5 separate regions of the Homo sapiens genome follow, and all the other regions are linked to region 3. Evidence: promoter capture Hi-C in 16 types of primary human blood cells and fetal thymus (Javierre and others, 2016). All regions are on one chromosome and are shown on one strand. Each heading gives the region's core, a stretch centred on a gene start or on the middle of the fragment in contact. The rest is flanking DNA. Distances are from core to core; before and after follow the strand shown.

Evidence for each region. The method cuts DNA at HindIII sites, captures the fragments that hold promoters and counts their contacts. A CHiCAGO score of 5 or more calls a contact.
Region 1: a contact is called between a fragment that was not itself captured here and the fragment with the promoter of RBM25 in region 3, in 1 of 17 cell types (naive CD4 T cells). The highest score is 6.0, in naive CD4 T cells.
Region 2: a contact is called between the fragment with the promoter of ALKBH1 here and the fragment with the promoter of RBM25 in region 3, in 1 of 17 cell types (non-activated CD4 T cells). The highest score is 5.1, in non-activated CD4 T cells.
Region 4: the fragment with the promoter of CIPC here is called in contact with the fragment with the promoter of RBM25 in region 3 in 2 of 17 cell types (non-activated CD4 T cells and total CD4 T cells); the score reaches 7.4 in non-activated CD4 T cells.
Region 5: a contact is called between the fragment with the promoter of ERH here and the fragment with the promoter of RBM25 in region 3, in 3 of 17 cell types (naive CD4 T cells, non-activated CD4 T cells and total CD8 T cells). The highest score is 12.6, in naive CD4 T cells.

The regions. Positions count from the first base shown.
Region 1 is chr14:69,767,754-69,770,453 of GRCh38, reverse strand. SRSF5 (serine and arginine rich splicing factor 5) reads right to left here. Exons shown (of 8, transcript NM_001320214.2): 2 at 2,172-2,316; 3 at 1,780-1,850; 4 at 1,558-1,656; 5 at 1,203-1,272. The coding sequence starts at 2,297. Among named protein-coding and RNA genes, the nearest start is that of SRSF5, 2.0 kb to the right of the region's middle. RefSeq lists enhancers at 2,386-2,435, 2,432-2,700. The HindIII fragment of the contact is 6,506 bases long and covers 1-2,700 here.
Region 2 is chr14:77,706,643-77,709,342 of GRCh38, reverse strand. It overlaps ALKBH1 (alkB homolog 1, histone H2A dioxygenase), which reads left to right and starts at 1,320. Exons shown (of 6, transcript NM_006020.3): 1 at 1,320-1,521. The coding sequence starts at 1,339. It overlaps SLIRP (SRA stem-loop interacting RNA binding protein), which reads right to left and starts at 1,240. Exons shown (of 4, transcript NM_031210.6): 1 at 1,135-1,240. The coding sequence starts at 1,231. RefSeq lists an enhancer at 1,357-1,686. The HindIII fragment of the contact is 1,367 bases long and covers 1,081-2,447 here.
Region 3 is chr14:73,057,098-73,059,797 of GRCh38, reverse strand. It overlaps RBM25 (RNA binding motif protein 25), which reads right to left and starts at 1,264. Exons shown (of 19, transcript NM_021239.3): 1 at 1,093-1,264. It overlaps RBM25-AS1 (RBM25 antisense RNA 1), which reads left to right and starts at 345. Exons shown (of 2, transcript NR_184256.1): 1 at 345-522; 2 at 1,041-2,700. RefSeq lists enhancers at 1,160-1,699, 752-1,951, 1,023-1,987. The HindIII fragment of the contact is 1,744 bases long and covers 1-1,715 here.
Region 4 is chr14:77,096,873-77,099,572 of GRCh38, reverse strand. CIPC (CLOCK interacting pacemaker) reads right to left here and starts at 1,315. Exons shown (of 4, transcript NM_033426.3): 1 at 1,212-1,315. LOC124903350 (a long non-coding RNA gene) reads left to right here and starts at 1,555. Exons shown (of 2, transcript XR_007064275.1): 1 at 1,555-1,697; 2 at 2,673-2,700. RefSeq lists enhancers at 545-704, 844-1,673, 2,035-2,084 and a silencer at 1,705-1,854. The HindIII fragment of the contact is 10,027 bases long and covers 1-2,700 here.
Region 5 is chr14:69,396,981-69,399,680 of GRCh38, reverse strand. It overlaps ERH (ERH mRNA splicing and mitosis factor), which reads left to right and starts at 1,382. Exons shown (of 4, transcript NM_004450.3): 1 at 1,382-1,450. The coding sequence starts at 1,448. It overlaps SLC39A9 (solute carrier family 39 member 9), which reads right to left and starts at 989. Exons shown (of 7, transcript NM_018375.5): 1 at 216-989. The coding sequence starts at 311. RefSeq lists enhancers at 697-1,036, 1-1,164, 1,366-1,873, 1,874-2,382 and a silencer at 1,133-1,373. The HindIII fragment of the contact is 2,829 bases long and covers 1,214-2,700 here.

The DNA of each region.
Region 1 (2,700 bases), core at 188-2,687, 3.3 Mb after region 3:
AATTGTGTTAAGCAAAGAAGAGGAAAGGGGACACACAAACAATCACATGATATAAAAAAAACAAGACTACTGAAAGAGAAGATGTTAGATAAAGTACAAACATGGCATTTACCACACTTGTATTCTATCAGAATTCAAAAATTATCTATGTCAGGGCACGGAATAAGCAAATAGCATATTGCTTTTAAGCAAAATGCTAAAAGAAATTCAGATTTTAACATTAAGGTAGTATTAGTCTATGCTGAGCTCAGTACAAAAGAAAAAAAAACAAACAAAAAAACAACAAAAAAGGAAACAGTACATATTTTTAAAGTAAAGACTAAAGTAGAGAAGTTTTATTTAAAAAAACAGAACATTTACAAGACACCAGTTATTTTGTGCCCCATATGTCATTAAAAAAGTTTACTTTACCTTTATTATTATTTCCCTAGGCTAGTCAAGCAGCAAACCATTAATCGGTCGGAGAAACCTTCATGACATATGCCCGACTGGCTCTTCGCCACCCACTTGAAGGACACTACCCAATCGATGGAAGCCTTTAATCGCACAGCCCTCCCTATTAGCGGACTATTGGCGGATGCAGACATGTTCTACTCGAGCAGTTACCAAGGACCACTTTACTGCGATCAGGATTCCAACGACCACCTAATTTCGTATCTTTCAACTCTTTTCGACCGGACCTCTTATTCGGAAGCGTTACAGGAAGACAGGTCTCAACTTAGGGATCAGATCACGTTATCAACGCTCTGGGATCGCTGCAACCTGGCACTTCAAGGAAGTGCACCGATAACGTCTAGACCGGCAAACACAGATCTAGAGGTGGCCAACTGATCACTGTAGGAGCTGACTGGCAAAGTCAACCAGGCCCAACCAAGAGTGACCAAGACAACGATTAGGATAACCCACAGGCACTCCTCGTCATAAGGCCAACGACACAGACAGGCTGGCAAATAAAGGGTTTAATATTTGGTTAAAAATTGATTTTAAAAAACAAGAAAAATATCCTCAAAACATTTACATTTGATCACTAATATTAAAGTTCAAAATATCCCCCAAATTACATTTAATTAAATGTTTAAAATTACAATTCCATTAAATCCATTAATTTAAAACTACTTTTAATAAAACAATACAACATTAGCTACCCATTAACTTTTTTAAAAAGCCACATCAAAATAACTCAAAACTGTATTTCAACAAACCTGCCAGCTGACTCTTGAGGATAAATTCTCAACTATAAGACGATTTTCTGTTCTTACAGGTGGAGCATTTCTGAGGAAGAAAATTCGTATTCACAATGGAAGAAATGCAATGACAGCACTTGTGTTCAACTGTGGGCAAGTTCAAGCCATCAGATATCACAAGCCATTCTAATGACTTCCGTCAATAGATTTGTGTTCTATGACTCATATAGATTCATCAAGAACAACTGGCTAACGTGGGAATAGAAGAACAGATTATACGGCAGGACCCAAAATCATCACTGCTAATGACTCCTGAATCTTAAATGCTACCCCTACAATAATTGTTCAATGCAGCCATCCACCCTTCACATACCGTCTATCATTTCGAGGTCTGCGACTACTAAAACGGTCAGAGTATCGTCCTCTACCTCTTCCACCTCGTGACCGAGCCCTAGCATGTTCAATAGTAACCCTACAAAAAGGGAAGAAAAATCTCCGTTACACACTTAAGCTACATAAATCTACTTAGAAAAATATGCCAGCAGACCCAGTCTGCTCTATGTCCCAGGGTTATCTAGTTACACAGGAATCTCACCTTTCACTACAGAGTTCTTTTCCATCAAGCTCATACACAGCATCATCTGCATCCCTTGGATCCTCAAATTCCTAAAATGTAAGCATAAGACTCTTAACATTGGCTTTAGAAGAGTATTCTACAACACATTAAGAGCACTGAAATCAGGAGACAGAATGGGAAGAGTATCTTAACGACACTGCCATACAGTCAAACCTAATCAAGGAGCCACTGGGAGTGGGGTTCCAGTGAGCCGGCAAGTTAAAGTTGTTTTCAGCCTCAATAAAATTCAGACATAAGGCTGGGTAACATTTTCTGAAGGCAAATATTCCACCCGGACTCAAGATCGAAAACAACTGCTTATCAAAACTCTACCTACTTAGCAGATAATTCACCCAGTTCTAAATACTTACCACAAAACCAAAGCCTCTTTTCAGATCAATATCTCTTATCCGTCCATATCCCTTGAAGAATCTTTCCACGTCCTTCTCCCTGGCCGCTGGATTTAGTCTCCCGATGAATACCCGACAGCCACTCATGATGTCCGGCTAGTACTTCCTATTAGAAAGTAATTCAATCGAGATAATAGCAATGACTGTCACAGAGAAACGCCTGATTAAACAATCAAAAACATCAACGGCATAAAATGTTTACACAGTGATGTTATGAACGAGATTGCCAACAGAGCCTCTAATGAGGCCAGGTTACCTGCAGACAAAATGAAAACCCAGCTCCCTCCCAACACGGTCCGCTACTGGGCCCAGACCGCAGCAACCGCAACGCCCACTGCCACCTTTCCAACTGCGCAGCCGCACACTCTCCGGGCTCTCCGGCCCCCTCCCATCTGCCGCAGTTAGGAAAGGCCGAGAAGTGCGGGCGGAGCCGCCCGCGCCCTCCGCAAAGCCAGCCCAATGGCGGCCTCGCGGGCGCGTCACAGCGGGT
Region 2 (2,700 bases), core at 71-2,570, 4.6 Mb before region 3:
ACTAAAAACTTAGAAGAAACTAAATCTTGCTCCATTTTGTTTCCAGGGGTTGACCTGAAACATGAATATCTACAAAAAGAGTGACCACGAATGTTTACATGTTGGTAAGCAAATATAAAAACCTCATCTCAAAACTGCAGCTGACAAAAATTGAAGGTGGTGAAAGATTTCAGAACTAATTATTCCAACCTTTATCTGTAGACTAGGCCTCTCCCGTAAGTTTCAATTTTAGTTACCGTGAAAATAACTATCATTTGCTGAGTACTTACACTGTATCTAACACAAGTCTAAGAAGTTTGCATATAAACTCAATCCTCTCAACAATCCTATGAGTTGGGTATTATTGACTCCATTTTATCGATGAGTAAACTGAGGCCCAGTTGTGAGCCCTTTTCCCATACTAACTTCAGTTATTCAAGTGATAACAACGATTAAATGGCCAAGTTGGAATTCTAACCCCAACGGTCTAGCTTCGGAGTCCACTTCTCAGCCACAATGATATACAACCTTTGTCCAATTGCCTGACGGAAACCTCACAAGTTTCTCAAAGTCAACACATTCAAACTTTACTCATCTTCTCTTGGCCTGCTCCTAACTTCTAAACAAACAATTCACCAATGCTAAAAACCCAGAAATCATTTCTCCCTTTCCTTTATTCCGTACACTTCTCCCACTTAAGCCATCACGAAACGGCATCTAATTTGCTTTTAAAACATTAATGCATCTGACCACCATCCTTCTACCATCGCCCTAATTCAGGTCCTCACGTTTTAAGTAAATTAATGAAATTGCCTTTTAGCTCCTCTGCACGCCTACAATCTTGCCACCTTGAATCCATCCTCCACACTACAGTCAAAATTATCCCTTCTAAATTGTAAATCTTGGTTACCAAGTAATAAATCTTTACACCAAATCACTCCTAAAGGCAAGAGCCGGTGCATTCGTGACCCCAAAAGCTCAAGGGACATCCCTAAACGGTTAACTGCAAACAAAATTTCTTTCTGCTCACTTGCATGCTCAGGAGCAGTCTCCTAATTCAGCCACCACGCTGACTTAAGTACCCTGCAAAAAGCAGAAGCTTTGAGGATCACTTGGACCTAAAAATTCCACTACTCCCACATCTCCATCACTCACTCGACGCCGCAGTCCAAGGAATTCTTCTCACAAAAGCAACCGGCTGATTGATACTTCTACGCAGCGCCGCAGCACCTCTCGCTGCTGAGGCCGCCATCTTCAGACTAAAGCACCTTCTCGAGCCGAGGTCGCGGCCCCGGAAAAAATTTCCGGATCCGGAACACGAGAGAATCTGCTTCCGGATCAGAGGGTATAGGCCGCGAGATGGGGAAGATGGCAGCGGCCGTGGGCTCTGTGGCGACTCTGGCGACTGAGCCCGGGGAGGACGCCTTTCGGAAACTTTTCCGCTTCTACCGTCAGAGCCGGCCCGGGACCGCAGACCTGGAAGGGGTCATCGACTTCTCGGCGGCCCACGCAGCCCGTGGCAAGGGTCCTGGTGCCCAAAAGGTACAGAGAGAGGAGTGGCGCGCGTCTCTCCATCGCTTTGCCCCGCGTCTTGGAGGGACTTACGTGTCTTCTTCGCCTCTTTTCACCTCCAGACCGATTGTTATTGAACGATTCCTGACCTCCTTTGGCTGCAGAGTCGAACTCCCCACTAACCGTCACACTTAGCAATAAAGCGTTGAGATGCCTGTTTCTTTAGGCGGCCATTCCTGGCGGGGGCGCTCAGTCAAAAGAGCCTGGGAATCCGTGTTTATTTCTTACTGTAACTGTCTCCTCACATTTCTGTTTGGGTTTTTGTAAAACCCCATAGAACGTCTTTGTAGACGGTAGGGTAGACTTCTGCAGCTTAAAAAAAACCACTCCCGAGGAATCCCAGAACTGACAGGGATGCGGCGCTGTTTGTTAAGCCACTGTGCGTAAAACTAGTCCCTGTCTTCTCCTCTGGCTCTTTTAGAAGGAGGTCATTGAAGGATTCTGAGAATCCCTCCGTGTTGAAAATAAATGGCAAACAAGTATATATGGAATACAGGCACCGTTCTCTCTCTCAGCTTTTCCCCATGGAGATTAAGAAGGGGAACACAGTCCGGGAGCGGTGGCTCAAGCCTGTAATCCCGCACTTCGGAGGCCGAGGCGGGTGGATCGCTTGAACCCAGGGGTTCGAGACCAGCCTGGGGCATGGCAAGACCCCCGTTTCCGCCAAAAATACAAAAAATTAGCCAGTCTCATAACCTGTTCTCAAGTAAATAGATTTTTTAAAAATTATTTTTTTAAGGGAACATAACAGGCAAGAGGGAAAACGGGGAACCAAAACTGTAGTCCAATTTATATTTTCTTTCTTTACAATCCACTTTAACGTTGAGGATATGCAGTCCCTTAATTTGCTCTTGGTGTTGTCCACAGATGTCTAGATGAGGCATTCTTTCCAAGCTTCCTAACAGCTCTGATAAAATTGGGATGCTACAGTATTAAGTGTTAATGATTGCATACTTGAGCTCAGCTTTTCAGCACCTTCATTTGTTAGGGAAAAAAAGTGGTCTTAGAGTTGTCAAAATACAGAAAGTCCACACCCCAATAATAATATACTTTTTCTCTCCAGAGCGCTTCAGACTCTCATTCAGCTCCTTTTACCTACATTTTACCATAATATGTACATGCTTTTTAGAATGTCAGCCATCAGGGAAT
Region 3 (2,700 bases), core at 15-2,514:
GCTTTAAGTTAAATGAATTAGAATACTATAAGATTCACTTGAATCATGAGTAACTTATGACCAACTTAATCCCTTTCAAGTCCTCTGAATGTTTTTGGAAATAGCCTTTAAAAAAATTAAAAGCTCCAAAGACTATACAAAAATTATTTATACATTACTGCCCACGGCCTAATACACAGAGTACTTCACACTAATACAGCAGTAGGGTGCAACAGAGGTCCAATCTCTTCCCTTCTCTTGGCTCCACTCTGCCCAGTATCAAAATGGCATTTCCATGGCAATACAAATCCATATTACATAACCTCCGAAAAATCTTCATAGTCCTACGTCTATTCCGGAAAACCGTATTTAAAAGCAGGATTGACGACCAAAGAAAAATGAGAAAGTAACATTTTAATGTGGAGCTTAGTAATCGCCTAGAATGAATGGCGATATACAGTTTACTGCACCCTCCAATGCGCAAAAGAGGCAGGATGGCAAAATTCATGACTATCTTAAGCAAGCCAGGAGACTGCTAAAAAGGTAGGTATTAGCTCAATTCCAAGGGGGTGGGGCCCAGTTCACTTGGTGGCGGGCTCTAGATGGCCAAAGAGGAAGGGAAAGATATCCGTTGGTGGCCAGCACCTCGCTAAAAAGGGTGGGTAGAGGCTAACTTCAAGGCAACGGCTGGGGCGAGAGTGTCCCAGGCCCGAAAACCTACTGTGGGGCTCCGGTAAGTAAGGGGGCTCAGGGAAGGGCTCCCCTGGGGCAGATCGATCGTTTTGTATCTAACGTGGAGCCCAGGGGGGGCAGAGACGATTCACTCCGCGGCGGAACGTGGAAGGGAAAGGGAAAGTGGGCGACAATGCAAGACGGAAAGCTCAAGCCGTAGGTCTGGCCTCCACCAGCTACGGCTGGGCCCACAGCTTTTCCAGGCCTTAGAGAAGAGAAGAAACCAAGCCTCGTGCCGACCCCTCCCCCACCCCCGCCTCCGCGCTCCCCCTTACCTCTACCCCACCCTGGCGCTTTCGCAGCCACCCCGGCTTTTCCTCCTCCACCAGCTGAGGCACCCGGTCTCCCGGTTTCCACACGCGTTCAGAGACACAAACTCACCCGCCGCTGAGGAAACGGTACTGCCTTCGCGACCTTCTGGGATCCAGGTTACGAGTGCGCTCCACTGGTTCGAGATTTCTGCCCGTCGCTCGCCAGGGAGACTGAGTGCCCAAGCGCCTACTCGCACAGGCCGCAAATACAGCCGCGCTGCGCGGCGAGCTGATGGAGGTCTTCCTCTTGCCCGGCGTGCACTGCGGCCGGGGGCGGGGAGCGCGGAACCATAGAGAAGAACGTATATAGATCGTCTCCGCTGTTGGCTCTGACTCACCAAGCCGAGACGAATAACCATAGAGAAGCAGCGTCTAGCGGTTACTAGAAAGGCCCGAACTGTAAATTATGACCCACCATGTTTGATTGGAGCCGACTGAATCTTACGACTACGGGACGCCATCTTGAGGTCAAGGTTCCGGCTGGGCACGGCGCGAGGAGTGTTAGAGGCTTTCTCACTTTTCGTAGTTTTTCGGGGGGTGGAACCTTGCTTTGTGATTCCTTGAGGTTCGAGGAACTGATAACTGGGCGCGATCTGCAACCTTAGTGTTAAACCCCAAGTGCTGTTATAACAACTACTCGAGATCAACAAATAATTGGCAAAGGCTGTGGAGGTTTTTTGAAAAGCAAAAGCTTATGCGTAGTTGTAGGGCCAAAGAGGTGGCTAGAAGATGTTTGGAAAAACGTGAAAAGTCCTGTAATACTAGTTAACACAGCTTTCGTTCTGTAATCTAAACGTGCTAAAAGAACTTAGCTTAAGTTAATGGAAATGAATAAAATTAATCATAAATGATTACGTTATTCCAATTGTGGACCTTATAGGCAATATCTAGTTACACGCCTTTCTCAACTGCTTGCCTCTAGGAAGGCATAAAACGGATTCAGTATAAAGTTATTGCCTCCCTGAGTTCCTGGTGCTGTGTTAAGTGCTGGAAGTATGAAGGCAAATGGAAGTGAGATTTGTTCCTGTCCTGCAAGAACTGTGAGCCAGGTGAAATAGATGACAAACCATGACCAGCCTAATATAAAATTGAAACATACTACACACTTCCTGCCTGCCTCCCCTACTTAATTTTACTCTAAAGCACTCATAACCATCTATCATAACATACATTTTTCTTGCTGATTTTATGGTCCGTCACTACCCCCACTAGAATGTGAATGTAAGCAATGCATGGATTGCCTGTTTTGTGCAAGAACAGGTCCTGGTACATAGCAAGCGCTCAATAAATATTTGTTGAGTGACAGAAATGATTACCGGCCGGGCGCGGTGGCTCACGCCTGTAACCCCAGCACTTTGGGAGGCCGAGGCGGGTGGATCACCTGAGGTTAGGAGTTCGAGGCCACCCTGGCCAACATGGCAAAACCCCGTCTCTACTGAAAATACAAAAATAAACTAGGCGTGGTGGCAGGCGCCTGTAATCCCAGCTACTCGGGAGGCTGAGGCAGGAGAATCGCTTGAACCCTGGAGGCGGAGGTTGCAGTGAGCCGAGATGGCACCACTGCACTCCAGCCTGGGCAACAAAGTGAGACATTGTCTCAAAAAAAAAGAAAAGAAAAGAAAAGAAATGATTAACATATGATGAGTACCAATAGAACACAAAATTTAGTGGGAGCACA
Region 4 (2,700 bases), core at 66-2,565, 4.0 Mb before region 3:
ATAAGGTCACAGAAAGAAAACCTTGAGTAATCCCCGTTAGAATTATAAATACATTACTAGCTTTTCTCCGAAGTCATTTTCTTTTGGCCTGCATATTCAGGGATACCATTCTGGGAGAATGTCTGGGTATCTTAACAGTGGAAAAACCCTGTCTACCTAAATGTCTAATATTCATCTTCCCTTCCACATTCATTCCATTTCTCCAACTTGGCTGAAAATTCGTGTCAAAGATCCTGAACCCCAATTCCATACAATTTCCTATGTTTTAGACCAGTTTGGCTCTATTTTCACCTTTCAAAGGGGAGATGAGCTTAGAGAACTTTCTCCGATCCCCTGCTGCAATTAGTTCACAGTAACAGTGCCCACCTACCCATTCGCACCAGCCCACGTTGCATCTGTGCCAGGCAGCATGTGCACCCTCCAGGCATCCACCAGCCTGCCAGCTCAGCAGGGCAAAACTGGGCAGACCCTAGTACTGTGCTGTGACTGGCATACCACCAGCCTTCCAGGGCAAACGCCCAGGCAATGCATACTGCCAGGACTTGAGCAATAACAGGGAGCCTAGCTCCAGCCTGTGACCTGGGCCGGGATCAGAGCTCCCCCGAACCCACCCACTAACCACTTAACTCCTTACTTGGCACTGCCCACCTTCTCCCCAGAAACACTACCCCCGACACCAAGCCTGGCAAGCTGGCCACTCAGGGGAAACAACCAGCAACGAGGGTGACGGCAGGTCTCTGGAAAAGGCAGCACACCTGTGCCCTGGAGCCAGAACAGGGTACCACCCCCGACCTCAAACCGGAAGCCCAGGACCCTCGCCCAGTTACTAGTTCTGGCGCCCACTCACCTGCCCATTGCTTGGCCCTCAGCTCCCAGCCGGGCTGGACTCCAAGCTCTCTCCCCGCCCAGCCGGCTGGCGGTTGCGCCCAGGGCTAGACCAGGGCCCACCTGCCCCTCACACAAGCCTCCTCCCCACACGCAGCCCCCTCCTCACCCGCGATTCCCTCTCCCACGCCCCTCACAGCAAACCAAAGCCCTGCTCCCACCATTTGGCTCTCCGTCCTCCGAAAGTCCCGGTTTGCCCCTCTTGCCTACTCGCTCCTCTTCCTCTCTCCCCTACTTCCACCTCCTTTCCCCACGCTCCTCGCCCAATCCCTCTCCCGCCGTCATCCCTGCTCCCCTCCTCCCGGACCGAGCCCTCCCTTTCTCACCTAGGGCCGGGGTCGCAGCTCCACGACCGGCCTGTGGGTCAGGTGGCGCATGCGCGAGCACGGCCCCGCGGCACCATGACAACCTCGTCGTCGCTGGGTGTCTCGCTATCCCCACAGCCTCCCGCCCATTTCTCCTCCCCACGCCTCCGCGACGGCTTTCGCCAGCCACGTGACCCGACTCGGATGACCCGGCACCATGGAGACCGCACGCTGTTCTCCTAGAAGGGCCCTTGGAAATGCGCCCTTTCCCCGCCCCCGCCGGAAGACCAGGCCGGCGCGGGGCGGGGCCAGCGCTCAGAGGCCTACGCTCTGTCCGCGGCCGGCGGGCGTCTCTATGGTTGGTTCCTCAGGCCTCGCCGCCATTTTGTACGGGGGCCTTGAGCAATGAGCGGCTTGGGCAAGGTTTCCAGGCGGGGTTCAGAGGAGCCGGGGGTGGGGCCGGCTTGGAGTCGATACAGAGAGAGGAGCGACTCTCGCACTGTCTTGGTGCGTGCCGCCGTGCCGCCGTGCCGCCGTTGGGGGTGGGGGCCGGGGCGAGTCGTGTCCGGCCTGTGCGCGTGCCGGGAGCGACAGTGCCCGGCGTGGGAGAGCGGGCGTGCGGGCGGCCTCAGCCTGGAGTCGCCGTGACAGGGGTGCCAGACCTCCCCGCGTGCTCCTCGCATTTTCTCTACGCCTGTCGCCCTGTTTGTTTTTTGTTCCCGTCCACCCTCGAGACCGTGCTTCACGAGGTCGAGGCGCGATGAGTTATTTTAAGTAGATGATTTCATGACCTTTGATGTTTGACTGACTTTGTCATGTGCTATGGGTTTTATATGGATGCTGTTTCTTGGTGAAGGTTCACGGTGAACACACGTGTGTAACAGCTAAAGAAAAAAAGGGCTTGGGATCAGTTGACGTTCTGATGCCTTGAATCAGTGAAGGTTACTTAGAAAAAGAATTATTTCGCTAGTGAAAAAGAGGACATGGGCGAGTTTAAAGAGTTGACGGGTCGAGGCAGATTCAAGAGCTGAGCTGTCCAGTAAGATGGTCACTAACGACTGGATAAGTTTCTCAGTTGTACTAGCCACATTTCAGGAGCTCAGTGACCTCTTTATTGGACAGTGCAGATTATATATAGCCCATTCCCAGCATCGCAGAAAGTTATATTGGACAGTGCTGATTTAGATAGTGGGGAATTGTTTTATACTGGTCATCCAGGCCTTTGTAAGTGCTGCTAGGTCGTGGTTAATCACGTTAGTCCTCTAGACACAGGTAATTCTAATGTATTACTGGGTATGGGTGTACTTGTTAGTAGTCAGCTTTACCAACAAGTAATATGCCTACACCATGTAAGGCTTTTGTTTTGGGGACAGAGTGAAAGCAATAGTTAACAATTACCAAGTAATTAGGAGCCGGGCCGCTTTATATGCATCCTTTTATGATTCCTTACAAGTTTATGACGCAGGTGGTATTTTTTTCCAGTTGTGTGGCGTTTTTGCCCATTAGGACT
Region 5 (2,700 bases), core at 133-2,632, 3.7 Mb after region 3:
TCCGTGGAATATCTATCCACCCCAGGTTAAGAATTCCACTAATGAATATGAGGTTTCTTTCTATTATTAAGTGTCATGTATCTTTTAAAAAAGATAGTCTTTCTTAATGAGACCTTCAGCTTTGAGATTTAACTAGGGAAGCAGCTTCCCTTTGCAACTAAAACTACTATCTCACAGCCATCCTGACAGCTGACAGAAAATTGAGAATTTCTTACCTCTGAGAAATTAACAGCCAAGGGAATGATTCCGGCCACGTAACATCCCACCAACATAGCCAGAGACAGCAGGCTAATGGAGATGAAATCATCCATTCTGCCCTCCTTTATTCACCCACAACCACTAGACAACAAATTTCCAGTGGCTTTAAATGGTGCTTAGGTTCTTTAAACAGGTGTGGTGGTTCCAAGAGAGTGGGCTTTCCAGTTCTTTAGGCCTTCCCACCAGCAGATGTGTTCACGAGGCACCTTCCTCTTGAACGTACCCGGCAACAGACCCTTTTTGCTGATATTAGCACCAGAGAAAGCTTACAGCAATCTAAGGTCCCAGGCTCTGGGTTCTCAGATGCCAGTCATTAGATTCTCGTGGGTTAACAGAGATGGGAAAAGTCAATGGGGAAAATGTGCGAATGATCGATTTCTTCGATTGTCGGATTGAGGGTGGCACAATGTCTTAGGCGGCGGCGGGTAAGTGACTCAAGCGAACCTGTTCGTTCCCTAGGCGCCCCTGTCTCCAAGAGGCGGCCCCGAAGGTGATCCGCCCCCCAGAGCAGGAAACCAGCCCACCAGTCCCAGCAAACTCTCCTCCGAGCCTGGGATGAGGAAAGGAGTCCTGCAGGTCTCTAACGATGGGTCCTAGGGGTTCAGCAGCAAAGTTGACACAAAGCTGTCTCTGCCCTATACCCGGTGCTGCCCATGGTACTGCACTCGACCGGGCCTTGACCCGGAGTCGCCGATACTACAGCTGCCATGGCCGCCAAGTGGCATCTCTTCATTCCATCCACTTCCGGATTGTCTAACCACCCCCTCCTTTACAAAGGCACTTCCGGGTTACAACCGACCTCCGGCCCAGGATACTTACGTTGCCGCCATTTTTGAGTAGGGCTAATGAAAGATGTCTGATGTCACTGTCTATACCGGTGATCACTTGAGCCGTATGTTTAATAACGAAAGTACGGAAGACAGCGTCTTGAAAAAAAATAATTCTTCCTAAAGCTTGGAAACTTTCCCTTACCTTTTTGCCTTTATCGAAGATGGCTGAAACAGAGTCAGTAGCTGCTCTAGCTGCCGGAAGTGACTGTGCCTCTATGATCCAAAAGGCTCTTTTGCGTTGCACTTTCGACGACTTCCGGCGGCTCCTCTCGCGAGGATTGGCTGTTAGCGGCGTTGTAGTTAAGCTCGTGTAACGGCGGCGGTGTCGGCAGCTGCTGTAGCGAAGAGAGTTTGGCGCGATGGTGAGAAAGGCCTCCGCGGCTACCCGAGTCCGAGTCCCCGGCCTCCAGAGCGACCCCAGCCCCATACGTTTTCCCCTCCCCACGAGCCCCATGCAGCGCCGCGTGATGCTCCCCGCCACTCTAGTCGGTGGATTGACCCTTCTTCCCGCCGCAGGGACGCCAGGCCTGACTCTAGGCCTCGGAGCCCCGGTCCGCCCTGCGGTTGCGCGCCCGCCTGCTCGCTCGGGTCCGGCGTGCCTTGGGCCTGAGGATGAACTCTCTCCCGATTGTTACTCGGTAGAGGGAGACGTGGGGGAGGTGTTTTGTTTTTTGAGATAGAGAGTCTCACTCTATCGCCCAGGCTGGAGTGCAGTGGCGGGATCTCAGACCCCTGCAACCTCTGCCTCCTGGGTTGAAGCAATTCTCCTGTCTCAGCCTCCCTAGTAGCTGGGATTACAGGCGCCCGCCACCTCGCTCGGCTAATTTTTTTATTTTAGCAGAGACGGCGTTTCACCATGTTGGCCAGGCTGGTCTCGAACTCCTGACCTCAAGCAATCCACCCGCCTCGGCATCCCAAAGTGCTGGGATTACAGGCGTGAGCCACCGGGCCCTGCCGGATATGGTATTTTTCCCTCCAAATGCTCTAGCCTGCTGTAGGAACAATGGGCCAGGGTTGTCTAACTATTCTCGAAGCTGACAGATCCAGCTATACCCAGCATGTGGGCCAGGAGAGGACGTATTTGCTTTGCAGTGTTTTTTCAGCTTTCGTTTTCCTGTGCTCTGCCTTTTTTTTTTTTTTCCTGTTTTTGAGACCTCTAGGTATTGCGTGTGGCGCGTCCCTCAGCCCTCGATCCTGTACTTATCTGTATTTATATCCTCTTGGGGCTGGAGGCTGAAAAGTAGGCTCAGCTCAGAGACCAGCTCTATTAGAACCCAACCGGGATGATCAGTAAGCTCCAATTCGAAGAAAGTGACCAAAACTGGCTTGAGAGGTGGTATAATCTGTAAAGAATTTGAGCAGGAAAGCATTGCCATTTAAAAATGATAACCACTTGACCACAGTTTTTAAAATGTATCATGTTATGTTCTTAGTGATTTTTAATCCTTGTCTTTGGGCAGTAAGTACTGAAAATAGTAAACTTTGCCCGGTGTTCATTTTAAGACTAGATATAAAAAGCAACATGCTGTATAGCTTTTTCCATTCTTACCCTTTCAAATTAGTCCTTTAATTTGCATTAGAATTGGAATACAATTATTATAGTAGCAGTTGA